2 separate regions of the Homo sapiens genome follow, and region 1 is linked to region 2. The links are contacts of gene promoters, found by promoter capture Hi-C in blood cells and fetal thymus (Javierre and others, 2016). All regions are on one chromosome and are shown on one strand. The core of a region is centred on a gene start or on the middle of the fragment in contact, and the rest is flanking DNA. Distances in the headings are between cores, read along the strand shown.

Region 1 (3,866 bases), core at 622-3,121, 82 kb after region 2:
GATAACATTGGTTATAAAAAGAGACGTGAAGCCGGGCGTGGTGGGTCACACCTGTAATCCCAGCACTTTGGGAGGCCGAGGCGGGTGGATCACCTGAGGTCGAGAGTTCAAGAACAGCCTGACCAACATGGAGAAACCCCATCTCTACTAAAAATACAAAATTAGCCAGGCATTTTGGCGCATGCCTGTAATCCCAGCTACTCAGGAGGCTGAGGCAGGAGAATCACTTGAATCCGGGAGGCGGAGCTTGCGGTGAGCCGAGATCGCGCCATTACACTCCAGCCTGGGCAACAAGAGCGAAACTCCATCTCAAAAACAAGAAAAAAAGAGATGTGAAAAATACAAAAAACAAATGTGTGTCTTTGAATCTGTAAAATATGGTACAGAGCCAGGATTCAAACCCAGGCGGTCTGGCTCCCAAATCTGTGCCACATTGCCTCTTTAAGTAGTAATATTCAAGTCTTTTCTGTTTTACTCTCTTAGCAGTGGAAGACAGGAAGCTGTTTATTGGTATGATTTCCAAGAAGTGCACTGAAAATGACATCCGAGTCATGTTCTCTTCGTTTGGACAGATTGAAGAATGCCGGATATTGCGGGGACCTGATGGCCTGAGCCGAGGTAGGTAGTTTTAGCTTTTAAATAATCTTTTGGTTTTTTGTTTTGGTTTGGTTTGGGGTTTTTTTTTTTTTGGAGACAAGGTCTTGCTCTCTCTCACCCAGGCTGGAGTGCAGTGGTGCCTTCACAACTCACTGCAGCCTGAACCTCCCAGGATCAGCCTCCTGAGTAGCTGGGACCACAGGCATGCATCATGACACCCAGCTAATTTTTAAATTTTTTATAGAGAAAAGGTCTCCCTGTGTTGCCCAGGCTGGTCTTGAACTCCTGGACTCAAACGATCCTGTCATCTTGGCCTCCCAAAGTGCCAGGATTGTAGGTGTGAGCCACTGCACCGGGCTTGGAATCTTTTTAATTTGACCGGTGGAAACTAGCAACAGTGATTCCCTAGCCAATATGGCCCAGTCAAGATAAAGAGGTTGGGCCTGCTGCTTCCTGCTGTATATCTATGTCCTGTCTTGACTCCTCCTATCAGTTCATTCTTTTTGTCTCCCAGCCCCTCTAAGGAGTCTACATTCTATATTTCATTGTCATGTATTAAAATTTTCTCTTTTGGTGCTTTGCAAGATCCTTGATGCCAAAATGGAAATACTTTCTTCTTCCATTTTCTTTTATTTTCAAGAGGAACTAGAGGATATGAGTCCTCCTTTCTCCTGTCAAGCATTTTTTTTTTCTGTCAGTGGTTCTGTTTTTTCATTATAGCACATATCACCCTGTTGCAACATACCAGCACATGATTCCCTGAAAACAGGGACTGTGTCTGTATTGCTAGCATGATAGTCAGCACATAGTAGGTGCTCAGTTAATGTTTGTCAGAGAAATAAATGAATGCATGAGTTACTGACTCTTCTCTTACCAGGTTGTGCATTTGTGACTTTTACAACAAGAGCCATGGCACAGACGGCTATCAAGGCAATGCACCAAGCACAGACCATGGAGGTAGGGAGCAGATAGGTGATGGGGAAAATTCCTCAGCTTGGGAATGCTGGGACAGTTGGCCATTAAAGTCCAGCAGCATGTGCAGCATCTGATTGCCCAGAAGGTTAAACAGCCAACATCTTAAAGTTAAAAACCACTGATTTCTTTAAAATTAACGTATTGGAAATGCTCTCCCTACCCCTTTTTTTGAGATGGGGTCTTACTTTGTCACCTGGGCTGGAGTGCAGTGGGAATATCATGGCTCACTGCAGCCCCAACCACCCAGGCTCAAGTGATCCCCCCTACCTCTGCCACTCAAGTAGCTGGGACTACAGGTGCACACCAGCACGCCCAGTTAATTTTTGTATTTTTTTTTAATAGCGACCGTTTTGCCATGTTGCCCAGGCTGGTCTAAAATTCCTGGGCTCAAGTGATCCACCCGCCTCAGCCTCCCAAAGTGTTGGGATTACAGTCTCTTCTCTCTTGTGTCTATCATGAGGAGAATCATTTGGCAGTGAATGAAATTAGAATGTAACCTGCATGTCATCCAAAAGGAAGATTTTTTTTCTTCTTTTCAGATGGAGGAATTTGACCCTTTCGTTATGGTCTTTTCACAGGGTTGCTCATCACCCATGGTGGTAAAATTTGCTGATACACAGAAGGACAAAGAACAGAAGAGAATGGCCCAGCAGCTCCAGCAGCAGATGCAGCAAATCAGCGCAGCATCTGTGTGGGGAAACCTTGCTGGTCTAAATACTCTTGGACCCCAGTATTTAGCAGTGAGTCTTTGTGGTTTGCTTTCTGCAGACTGTGCAAGCTCCCAGCTGTTCCTTCTTCTGCTGTCCCTAGCCAACAAACACAGTGGCATTTACAACTTTTGGCATATAGAAATTATATGTAAAAATTCAGGTAGTACTATTTCTTTTAGTCCTGTTAGTCTCTTTCTCTCTCTATATATATGTATCTCTGGACATGCATCTCTGGTTATATCTTGAGGCTTTTGCTGCAACTAAAGTGAATTCCTGGTTTCCCGTTTTAAAGATTTAGAAACATCTTGTGTCCTTGCCTCCAAGAAAGAAATTCCTGAGGGAATCTTAACTACCAGTGTCTTTCTCCATATCTCTTTCTACCAGATGTAGAGGGCATCATTAAAATCCTTATTGAGTCTTTCCTAAAGAGTATGATAAATGTTTCTTTCAGCGGACTTGAGAGATCAAGAGATTTTTTTTCTTTTTTTGCTTTATTTATTTATTTATTTATTTATTTTTTGAGACGGAGTCTCACTCACTCTGTCACCCAGGCTAGAGTGCAGTGGCACAATCTTGGCTTACTGCAACCTCCACCTCGGGTTCAAGTGATTCTCCTGCCTCAACTTCCCAAGTAGCTGGGACTACAGACACACACCATCACACCCAGCTAATTTTTGTATTTCTAGTAGGGATGGGCTTTCACTGTGTTGGCCAGGCTGGTCTCGAACTCACGACCTCAGGTGATCCACCTGTCTTGGCCTCCCAAAGTGCTGGGTTTACAGGTGTGAGCCACTGCGCCTGGCGGAGATCAAGAGATTAACATGAACATTTTTAAATGAGCATTACAGGTGTATATTCAAGTTTACTACATTGTAAATAGACTTCCTTTAATTTGATCTCTCTGTTGTCGTGAGCCAAAAGAAGGTTGTCTAGTCCAAAAGAAGGTCTCGCCCCAATTTGTGATTTAGATTTACTAGGTCTGCAGTGTATATGTTACAGGGGATTATTAATGGAAAAGAATTGGGCCAGCACAAGACAGTTAAAACCACCCATTTGTGAGTCAAAGAGGAAAAAGGTCATCTTAGGCTATTAATGGTGAAACCACTAGATTTGTATGGATGATACAAAAATATTCACATAGAAATAGCTAGTATAGTCATTTATTCCTCATCATTTCAAGTATTATTCTGTATGGAAACAGACAAAAGGCACTGATTTCTGTCTCCCAGTACTGAATTTTGGTTTAGTTCCAGTGGTTTTCATATTTCTAATATCTTATAAGAAATCCCAGTTTAGGCCGGGCGCTGTGACTCACGCCTGTAATCCCAACACTTTGGGAGGCTGAGGTGAGTGGATCGCCTGAGGTTGGGAGTTTGAGACCAGCCTGGCCAGCATGGTGAAACCCTGTCTATACTAAAAATACAAAAAAATTACATGGGTGTGGTGGCAGGTGCCTGTAATCCCAGCTGCTCGGGAAGCTGAGGCAGGAGAATGGCTTGAACCTGGGAGGCGGAGGTTGCACTGAGCGGAGGTTGCAGTGAGCCAAGATCGCACCATTGCACTCCAGCCTGGGCAATAGAGCGA
Region 2 (3,770 bases), core at 1,267-3,766:
CCCCGTCTCTACTAAAAATACAAAAAAATTAGCCGGGCATGGTGGCAGGCGCCTGTAGTCCCAGCTACTTGGGAGGCTGAGGCAGGAGAATGGCATGAACCCAGGAGGCGGAGCTTGCAGTGAGCCGAGATCGTGCCACTGCACTTCCAGCCTAGGCGACAGAGCAAGACTCCGTCTCAAAAACAAAAACAAAAATAAAATTAAAACAATGCACTGACCTTCATTAGTGCAATGTTATCACTTAGAAGAAATAGGTGGCCAGGTGTGGTGGCTCACGCCTGTAATCCCAGATTTTGAGAGGCCAAGGTGGGCAGATCACCTGAGGTCAGGAGTTCGAGACGACTTTGGCCAGCATGGCAAAACCCTATCTCCATAAAAAATACAAAAATTAGCCAGGCATGCTGGCAGGCACCTGTAATTCCAGCTACTTGGGAGGCTGAGGCAGGAGAATCACTTGAACTGGGAGGCAGAGGTTGCAGTGAGCTGAGATTGCACCATTGCACTCCAGCCTGGGCAAGGGAGTGAGACTCCATCTCAAAAAAAAAAAAAAAAAAAGAAAAGAAATAGAAATAAGGTCTCTGGCAACTGGGCAAACTTTATGCTTTAAGACTTCAGATATGCTCCAGCTACTCTTGTTATTAACCTCTTAATAATGAGTATCAGAGACTTTATGGTTCTAAATGAAGATCAGTAATTCTTTTTTTTTTTTGAGACGGAGACTCACTCTGTCGCCCAGGCTGGCGTGCAGTGGTGCAATCTCGGCCCACTGCAACTTCTGCCTCCCGGGTTCAAGCGATTCTCCTGCCTCAGCCTCCCAAGTAGCTAGGATTACAGGCGCCTGCCACCACGCCCGGCTAATTTTTTTGTGTGATTTTAGTACAGACGGGGTTTCACCATTTTGGCCAGGCTGATCTCAAACTCCTGACCTCAGGTGATCCACCCACCTCAGCCTCCCAAAGTGCTGGGATTACAGGTGTGAGAGCCACCACGCCTGGCCAAGTCACAAATATTTTCAAGGTTTCAAAAAAATCCTCAGGTTGAAATAATAGTATCTTCATCATGCTATATCAGTAAAACAAATGAGAAAGATAATTGTTTAGTGCTATTAGATGCCAAACGCTATAAAGATAGGGCAACATTAAAAAAAAATCAAATAGCTCAGATTGTAGATAACATCTTCTAATAACCATTGTGGAAGATTCCACAAACAGGCCAGTCACATTTAATGAAAGTTATGTTTTAGGCCTAAACTTTGTTATGAGAGAACTTTGGAGTTCCACCATGATTTCTAATATATGACTAAAAATTCCCCCAAATCAGAGCCAAATGAACTCTACAGTTTTCAATGGATAGTTTTATGAAAAATCTGGGGAGGGGAGAGTGTTAAGGGGGTGCTTTTCGTCTTACAGTTGGCAGGGCCTTCATCTGGAATCCCTAACACTGGGAATGCTGACCCATACTCAGAGCTCAAAGTATAGAAAGAATGAATGAAATCAGGAAGGCATGGGAAAGTTGCCTTTCAATTTTAGTTTCTGATTTTGGTTACCGAAATAAGAATACATTACATTTGTTCACAAAGGAGAAATCAGGCTTTGTCAACTTCCACTTTTTTTTTTTTTTTTTTTGAGACATTGTTTCACTCCTGTCGCCCAAGGCTGGGCTGGAATGCAATGGCGAGATGTCGGCTCACTGCAACCTCCACCTCCCGGGCTAAAGTGATTCTCCTGCCTTAGCCTCCCAAGTAGCTGGGAGTACAGGCGCACGCCACCACTCCCGGCTACTTTTTGTATTTTTGTAGGGACGGGGGCCTCGCCATGTTGCCCAGGCTGGTCAGGAACTCCTGGGCTCAAGTGATCTGCCCGCCTCCTCCTCCCGCCTCCCAAAGTGCTGGGATTACAGGCGTGAGTCCCCGCGCCCGGCCCAACTTGAACTTTTAAATAAACGCCTTTCACAGCTTCTAGCCTACCTCCAGGTGCCATTTAGAGGCACAGACCGGAGGCAAAGCAGCTTGAGACACCTGGCTCCGGTGCATGGTGACCTCCCCCACACTTCTCTAGCCGTCCCAGGCTCAGGGCGGTGGGCGAGGGGGAGCGGGCCCCCGAGCCTGCCCCTCGGCCCGGTCCCTCACCTGTGAAGAGTTGCACAGGAACCTCGTCTCGTACTCCTCGTTCATGGTGATCACCCCGCGCACGTTCTCGTCCTGTACCAGCTGCCGAGGCAAAGAGGTGGCTCAGCAAAGACGGTGGAGACCCCAGCGGCCCGACAGGGACGGAGCGGCGGGGACGGGGCAGGGGCCCGGGCTCCCCGGCCCGGCTCACCTGGCGCGTCAAGCTCCGCAACGGCAGCGCGCCCAGCAGCACGGTGGGGTCGATGCGGTGGTACCAGTCCCGGTGCGCCCGACCCGGCACCTTCCCGCGGAACAGGGTGTAGAGCAGCGTCGGGTAGAAGAGCACCCGCGCCAGGCCGGCCTCCAGCAGCGCGGTGGCCGCCATCCCGGCCCGGCGCAGCGGCGACCCGTCGGCCCCCGCGCTCGCGGTCCGGACCCGCGAGAAGAGCAGGCGGGTGCCGGGGCGGGGCTGCCAGCTGCACTAGGCCTCTCGCGGGCTCGCACCGGGTGACGGCGGGGACTGGCCTGGACTCTGGGGGACTGGCGGGACTCTGGAGGAGGGCCCGGCGGCCTCGGAGGAGGGACCGAGGTTTCCTGGGCGGGAAACTGGGACCCCGGCGAAGGGAGAGCGCGTCGCAGGCCAGACACGTGTGAGCCCTGTAGCGTGGGAAACTGAGGCCCCCGCCTGTGGCCGGTGACCTCCCTCCTCCGAGGGAGGGGGGTTGTGACCCCAGGTGAGAGGGGCAGGAAGGACCCCTGCGTGTGGAACTGTGACTCCGGCCGAGGGAGGAGGGGACACTCCCCCCAACCCTCGACCAGAGGAAGGGGGCAGTGACCCAGGTGCGGGTGTGACCCCGCCAAAGGGAAGACAAGACAAGGAGAGGCTGTGTGGCGGGGTAGCCCTGAAGAGGACAGTGGAAGGGCTTAGAGCTTTCAAACAGAGGAGCTACCTGGGTGAGGGCCTGATCCCAGGGTGAACAGGGGTCCTGGGTTGAGGTCGCCTTCCTCCTCCCCTCCCCTGTCCTAGGGCAGGGCTCCCTCCTTCATCTGACCAAACAGCAGTGTTTACATAGCAGGAAAAAATAGGAAAATATACATTATATTAATATATCCTTAAGAAAAATATTATGAAGAGCTCAAATATAAAACCTGCAACCTACAAAAAGGTAAGAAGAATGGTTGTAATGCCAGCTATTTACTTTTTGTTTGTTTGTTTTGAGACGGAGTCTCACTCTGTTGCCCAGGCTAGAGGGCAGTCGCAAGATCTCAGCTCACTGCAACCTCCGCCTCCCGGGTTCAAACGATTCTCCTGCCTCAGCCTCCTGAGTAGCTGGGATTACAGGTGCATGCCACCACACCCAGCTAACTTTTGTTTTTAGTAGAGACGAGGTTTCACCTTGTCAGCCAGGCTGGTCTCGAACCTAAGGTGATCCGCCCACCTCAGCCTCCCAAAGTGCTGGCATTACAGGCATGAGCCACTGCACCCGGCCCAAGCATCTGGTGGAGTTTTTGTTTTTTGTTTTTTGTTTTTGAGACAGAGTTTCACTATTGTCACCCAAGCTGCAGTGCAATGGCGTGATCTCAGCACACTGCAACCTCTGCCTCCCAGGTTCAAGCAATTCTCCTGCCTCAGCCTCCCGAGTAGCTGGGATTACAGGTACAT

What was found. Contacts are between HindIII fragments. The CHiCAGO score rates a contact against its expected background, and 5 or more counts as called.
Region 1: a contact is called between a fragment that was not itself captured here and the fragment with the promoter of PTPMT1 in region 2, in 4 of 17 cell types (M2 macrophages, M1 macrophages, M0 macrophages and 1 more). The highest score is 8.1, in M2 macrophages.

The regions. Positions count from the first base shown.
Region 1 is chr11:47,481,141-47,485,006 of GRCh38, reverse strand. It overlaps CELF1 (CUGBP Elav-like family member 1), which reads left to right. Exons shown (of 15, transcript NM_001376376.1): 7 at 484-618; 8 at 1,475-1,554; 9 at 2,151-2,312. Among named protein-coding and RNA genes, the nearest start is that of RAPSN, 34 kb to the right of the region's middle. The HindIII fragment of the contact is 9,324 bases long and covers 1-3,866 here.
Region 2 is chr11:47,564,345-47,568,114 of GRCh38, reverse strand. It overlaps PTPMT1 (protein tyrosine phosphatase mitochondrial 1), which reads right to left and starts at 2,516. Exons shown (of 4, transcript NM_175732.3): 1 at 2,319-2,516; 2 at 2,129-2,209. The coding sequence starts at 2,492. It also overlaps a transcript of CELF1 not described here. RefSeq lists silencers at 2,005-2,084, 2,215-2,694 and enhancers at 2,004-2,504, 2,505-3,005. The HindIII fragment of the contact is 17,352 bases long and covers 1-3,770 here.